Regions from separate parts of the Homo sapiens genome. Here region 2 is linked to region 1. The links are contacts of gene promoters, found by promoter capture Hi-C in blood cells and fetal thymus (Javierre and others, 2016). All regions are on one chromosome and are shown on one strand. The core of a region is centred on a gene start or on the middle of the fragment in contact, and the rest is flanking DNA. Distances in the headings are between cores, read along the strand shown.

The links. Contacts are between HindIII fragments. The CHiCAGO score rates a contact against its expected background, and 5 or more counts as called.
Region 2: a fragment that was not itself captured here is called in contact with the fragment with the promoter of MAP3K7 in region 1 in 1 of 17 cell types (naive CD8 T cells); the score reaches 7.5 in naive CD8 T cells.

The regions. Positions count from the first base shown.
Region 1 is chr6:90,585,694-90,588,487 of GRCh38, reverse strand. MAP3K7 (mitogen-activated protein kinase kinase kinase 7) reads left to right here and starts at 1,416. Exons shown (of 17, transcript NM_145331.3): 1 at 1,416-1,724. The coding sequence starts at 1,605. LOC124901363 (a long non-coding RNA gene) reads right to left here and starts at 1,694. Exons shown (of 2, transcript XR_007059680.1): 1 at 533-1,694. RefSeq lists silencers at 1,284-1,480, 1,477-1,596. The HindIII fragment of the contact is 2,842 bases long and covers 985-2,794 here.
Region 2 is chr6:87,689,930-87,692,877 of GRCh38, reverse strand. The region is part of intron 1 of AKIRIN2 (akirin 2); the gene reads left to right. Among named protein-coding and RNA genes, the nearest start is that of AKIRIN2, 11 kb to the left of the region's middle. The HindIII fragment of the contact is 9,255 bases long and covers 1-2,948 here.

The sequences.
Region 1 (2,794 bases), core at 167-2,666:
ATGCCCTGATTTCTCACTTGGACAACCAACTGGGTGATGGCATCCTTAAGTGACATAGGAAAATAACATAGGAATATATTTGTGGTGGGTGACAACTTTTGAATTTGCTGTGGTATCTTGAAGTTTAGGTGTTTGTCTAAGTAGAGATGACCAATAGGTCCAGAATTCAGGAAAAATCTTGAGTATTTGGAGATTAGGAGTCATCATTATAAAAATAGTATGAGAAACAGAGACCTTGGGTAAGAGCATGCAAAGAGAGAGTGTACAGTGAAAAGAAATTATCGTTTCTTTCATTTTTTTATCCACTCATCAAACTGTCACTGCGTGTCACTAGAACTACGAATAAAAAGTGACAGAATGTTTCCCAGGAGTTTGTAACTTCTTGATGGTCAAATCCAATGATCTATTTGCAATCCCAAATGTGTTTAACATAATTCCACAGTTAGGCTTTATGTCAAACGGACTATATAAAATTCAACAGTTAGTTTAAAACTAAAACTTGTGCTGGTAGTACAACATGAGCAATACTGACCATCTTGGGGACAGAATGATCTAGTTTGTGAGGACCATAATTGCTTTAAACTCTCAGCGTGTTTTCTCATGTCCTGAAAATGGTGACAAAAATATTCGATTTTCAAGGCGACTGTTGATGATTCATTTACCAATCTAAAGCACTAGTGCCCCGCACTCGTAATCCATAACTTGAGATGAACACACCAAATTATAAATATCTTATTCACCTAATCCGTGGAAAGTTTGTAACACCAAAATATTAACTTCTGTTCTTGATCACTCAGCCTCCATAGTTATTCATGTTGCATGATCTGATTCGCTCTTTTAGAATTTCTCATAGCGTCAGGTACTAGCTCAAAATAACAGGAGCAACTGCTTCTTTCCATATCCCACATTGAGGAAAACACATTTTGCAAGCCGTCTTAAAGAAACAGGTCAACTTAGTTTAGGGATGAAACTTAAAAGTAAGCTTCGTCACAAAAAACACAGTTCAACACCACCTCGCCCGGCTGCAGGCAGCTCAGAGGACAGGAAGTGAGGCCAAGACATATTTCACGCAGCACAGACTAAACCCCAGCTTTTATCTTTCCCGCTGGTCCTTAAGGGACCAACCGTACTGATTTTCCGTCATGTTCCGCGCCACTTCCGTTCGCGCACTTTAATTACGTCAGGCGTCCTCTCTCGCGGTATCATCCGGTTGCTGAGGCCCTGTAATAAAGGTCTCGCGAAATTTGTTCTAGAGGTCCAAGTTTGCTTCTTAGCTTACTCCACCCCACCCCCAACCTGTCCCTCCTTTTCTTTCCAAGTCACAAAATTCTCCCCTCCCCTACCCCGGAGTTTACGGCCCTCCTCCTGTTTCCGATTTCAGCCCGGAACCGGAAGTGTAGTGGGCGGGGCCCGTCGGCGGAAAACGCAGCGGAGCCAGAGCCGGACACGGCTGTGGCCGCTGCCTCTACCCCCGCCACGGATCGCCGGGTAGTAGGACTGCGCGGCTCCAGGCTGAGGGTCGGTCCGGAGGCGGGTGGGCGCGGGTCTCACCCGGATTGTCCGGGTGGCACCGTTCCCGGCCCCACCGGGCGCCGCGAGGGATCATGTCTACAGCCTCTGCCGCCTCCTCCTCCTCCTCGTCTTCGGCCGGTGAGATGATCGAAGCCCCTTCCCAGGTCCTCAACTTTGAAGAGATCGACTACAAGGAGATCGAGGTGGAAGAGGTGAGCGAGGCCCGGCATGGAGACGCCGGTCCCGGCCTGCCCCGCCCCCGCCTCTGCCTGGTGCCGGCTCTGAAGGTGCCTCCCGGGGCCCCTCTAATTCGCGGGACCCTGCGGGGTCCACCCGGGAGACCCCACAGCCCTCAGTAACGTGGGAGTGGGGGTTACTCTCTGAGCTCAACTGCTCGGGAGTAGCTGCCTTTTTTCCTCTCTTGGGTACTCTTGATTTTGGATTTGATATTCCGGTGATAAACAGGAGAATGAACTGGTGAGATAGTGTGGTCCACCAGTTCTCGTATCTGTAAGTAGTAGTTTCAGCGAAGATCGTAGCCGTTCTGGAGTTTCAGTCCGCTGGACGTAATGTTCTTTTTTTTTTTTTTTTTTTTTTGAGACGGAGTCTCGCTCTGTCGCCCAGGCCGGACTGCGGACTGCAGTGGCGCAATCTCGGCTCACTGCAAGCTCCGCTTCCCGGGTTCACGCCATTCTCCTGCCTCAGCCTCCCGAGTAGCTGGGACTACAGGCGCCCGCCACCGCGCCTGGCTAATTTTTTGTATTTTTAGTAGAGACGGGGTTTCACCTTGTTAGCCAGGATGGTCTCGATCTCCTGACCTCATGATCCACCCGCCTCGGCCTCCCAAAGTGCTGGGATTACAGGCGTGAGCCACCGGGCCCGGCCGGACGTAATGTTCTTAATGGCCAAAGATTGTATTATATTCGACTTCTACTTCAGTACCTGGCATGTAGGGGATGCTCAATAAATGCTTGTTAAATTAGTAGATCATCAAGTCTAATAAAGTGTTTCCCTTAGCACCGAATGGTTCTCAATTTCTCCGATACCGCACAGCAATACTCGTAATGTTTAAATGCTCGGCTTTCAGTTGGGCTAATGTAGGTGAATTTCACCATAAGTAACATAGACTGGTCTACGATCAAAAGATGTTTCAAGTAGCATATTCTGAAGAGATAACGAATGATTTCGGTGACAATCAGAATATAATATTAGACTAGAAATCGCTATCAGAAAACCCATATCCTTTCTTTATTCTGCAGTAATTTATTTTAGAACAAGATAT
Region 2 (2,948 bases), core at 443-2,942, 2.9 Mb after region 1:
CTGATGTCTATTCTAACTCCTGTTTTCTAAAAATTAACTTTCCTCGTTGTGATATTTATTTATTTTTGAGACAAGAGTCTTACTCTGTCACCCAGGCTGGAGTGCAGTGGCACGATCTCGGCTCACTGCAATCTGCCTCCTGGGTTCAAGCGATTCTCCTGCCTTAGCCTTCTGAGTAGCGGGGATTACAGGCGTGCGCCGCCACACCCAGCTAATTTTTGTATTTTTAGTAGAGACAGGGTTTTGCCATGTTGGCCAAGCTGGTCTTGAACTCCTGACCTCAGGTGATCTGCCCACCTCTGTCTCCCAAAGTGCTGGGATTACAGGCATGAGCCACCGCGCCCAGCCCATTGTGATTTATTTTAACATTAAATGCTAATAGAATTTTGATTAAGTGTAGTAATGTACTACTGGAGAGGGTAGTAGATGTTAAGAACTTGGGCCCTGAGGTCAAACCTGGCTCTGCCATGTTCAAGCCGTGTGACATTGCAGAAGACACTGAAGCAGAGCCTCATTTTTCTCATCTCAGGAAATGTGCACATGATGATAGTAGCATATGCCTCTTAGGGTTGTGAGAATTAAGAGCATTTACTGGCCAAGTGATGGAAATGGTCTCAAGAAGGCAACCTCAAATGGGACTTTTACTCACCAGCAAGTTTGCCTTTCAGTGACTAAGCCTGCCTTCTACAAAAGAGTTGCCATCAAATCACAGTTTTTTCATTGTTTTTAGTACCAGCACTACTGACATTTGAGCCTGTCCTGTTCTAGTATCATCGAGGATTAAACAATTATTAAAGCACTGTATATAGTGAGGGAAAGATTCCACTTTTCTCCAAAGTAACTTTATCCTCTTGATTATTCCATTTCTTCTCTCAATTGGATCTTTGCTTTTGGCTTTATATATTCACAAGCCTTCCATGAGAAAGTAAAAGAACAAAACATACTCATTTTCCTCCAGCTATCTTCCAGATTTCCTCCACTTCAAAATCAAATTCAGAGAGCTTTCAAATAGTCTGTTTGCTTCCATTTCTTCAGTTCTTAATTCCTGACATGCCTCAAGCAGCTCCTGTCAGGTCATCAGTGACTTCCATGACACTCAATCAGTCCTCCTCTTATTTGACCTTTCTTTCAGCATTCTGCCTGCTGGCACACTCCTTTCTTTTTGAAATGGCCTTTTTCTCCTTTGACTACAATTTCCCTCTACTCCCTAGCTGTTCTTCTCTTTACCTGGGCATTAAACCTTGCAGTTCTTTAGTTCTAGCTTTAGCTCCATGCTTATGTCACTTAATAGCTCCCTAAGCAGTCACATGCCTGCTCCTGACTTCAGTTTCCATTTACAGATGTCTCTTTAATTTGTATCTTCAGTTGGTTCAGACAGTTCCTCTTTAGTTGCAGCCATGGGAAATGTGGACTTTTTTTTTTTTTTTTTTTTTTTTTAAGATGAGGTTTTGCCCTGTTTCCCAGGCTGGAGTGCAGTGGTGCGATCTCGGCTCACTGCAACCTCTGCCTCCTGGGTTCAAGCAATTCTCCTGCCTCAGCCACCCAAGTAGCTGGGATTACAGATGTGTATCACCATGCCCGGCTAATTTTTGTATTTTTAGTAGAGACAGTTTCACCATGTTGGCCAGGCTGGTCTCCAACTCCTAGCCTCAAGTGATCTGCCCACCTTGGCCTCCAGAGTGCCGGGATTATAGGTGTGAGCCACCACGCCCAGCCTAATTTGGACTTTTTATCGTCAGATCTTGGTAGCCTTCGCTCCACCACTAGAAGTCAGAACTTTTGTGAAATCGATTGACTTTTAAATGTTCACAACTAATTTACAAAATACATGGGATAAATAAGAGATGTATGTAGACTTCTAATGAGTGTCTTATGGTGTGAGAGGTGGTCTTTTTGTTGTTGTTGTTGAAACCGTCTCACTCTGTTGCCCAGGCTGGAGTGCAGTGGTGCAGTCTCCGCTCGCTGCAACCTCCATCTCCTGGATTCAAGTGATTCTCCTGCTTCAGCTTCCCTAGTAGCTGGGATTACAGGTGCCCGCCATTATGCCCGTTTAACTTTTGTATTTTTAGTAGAGATAGGGTTTTACCATGTTGGCCAGACTGGTCTTGAACTCCTGACCTCAAGCCATCTGCCCACCTTGGCCTCCCAAAGTGCTGGGATTACTGGCATGAGTGACCGTGCCTGGCCTGAGAGGTGGTCTTAATTCCTCTTTTTAATAAGTGGTCATGTTGGTAAAGTAAATGAATTGCTTCATCATCAGTCACATAATGACGAATATGAATTTCCTTTTTTAAAGTGTATAAGGAGAGATGAAATAATCATTGTATATAGGTTAATGTCATGTAATGAGTTTTCCTAAGTAGGTCCAATCAAGTTAAATTAATTTGCAGAATATTTTCCTCCTACAGGAGGGGTATGTCTGACTTAGAATTACACTTGATCTTAGCCAAAAGGCTGAGAAGCAATGAACTGACAACTGCAAAAACCATTCAGGTGAGGGTGGCAAAATGATTTTAAGTTAGCTTAGGTATTTTCCTACTTGTAATAACCTTGCTGCTAATGTCTTGCTTTCCTTCCTCTCCACTCCTTAGTATGTCCAATAGTAAACCACTTTTTAAAAAATGTTCAATTAAGAGTTGGTTTTTTTTGTTTTTTTGGTTTTTTTTTTTTTGAGATGGAGTTTCGCTGTTGTTGCCCAGGCTGGAGTTCAATGGCGTCATCTCAGCTCACTGAAACCTCTGCCTCCCAAGCTCAAGCGATTCTCAGCCTCCCAAGTAGCTGGGATTACAGGCTCCTGCCACCATGCTCAGCTAATTTTTTTGTAGTTTTAGTAGAGACAGGGTTTCACCATGTTGGCCAGGCTGGCCTCCAACTCCTGACCTCAAGTGACCAACTGCCTTGGCCTCCCAAAGTGCTAGGATTACAGGCGTGAGCCACCGCCCGTGGCC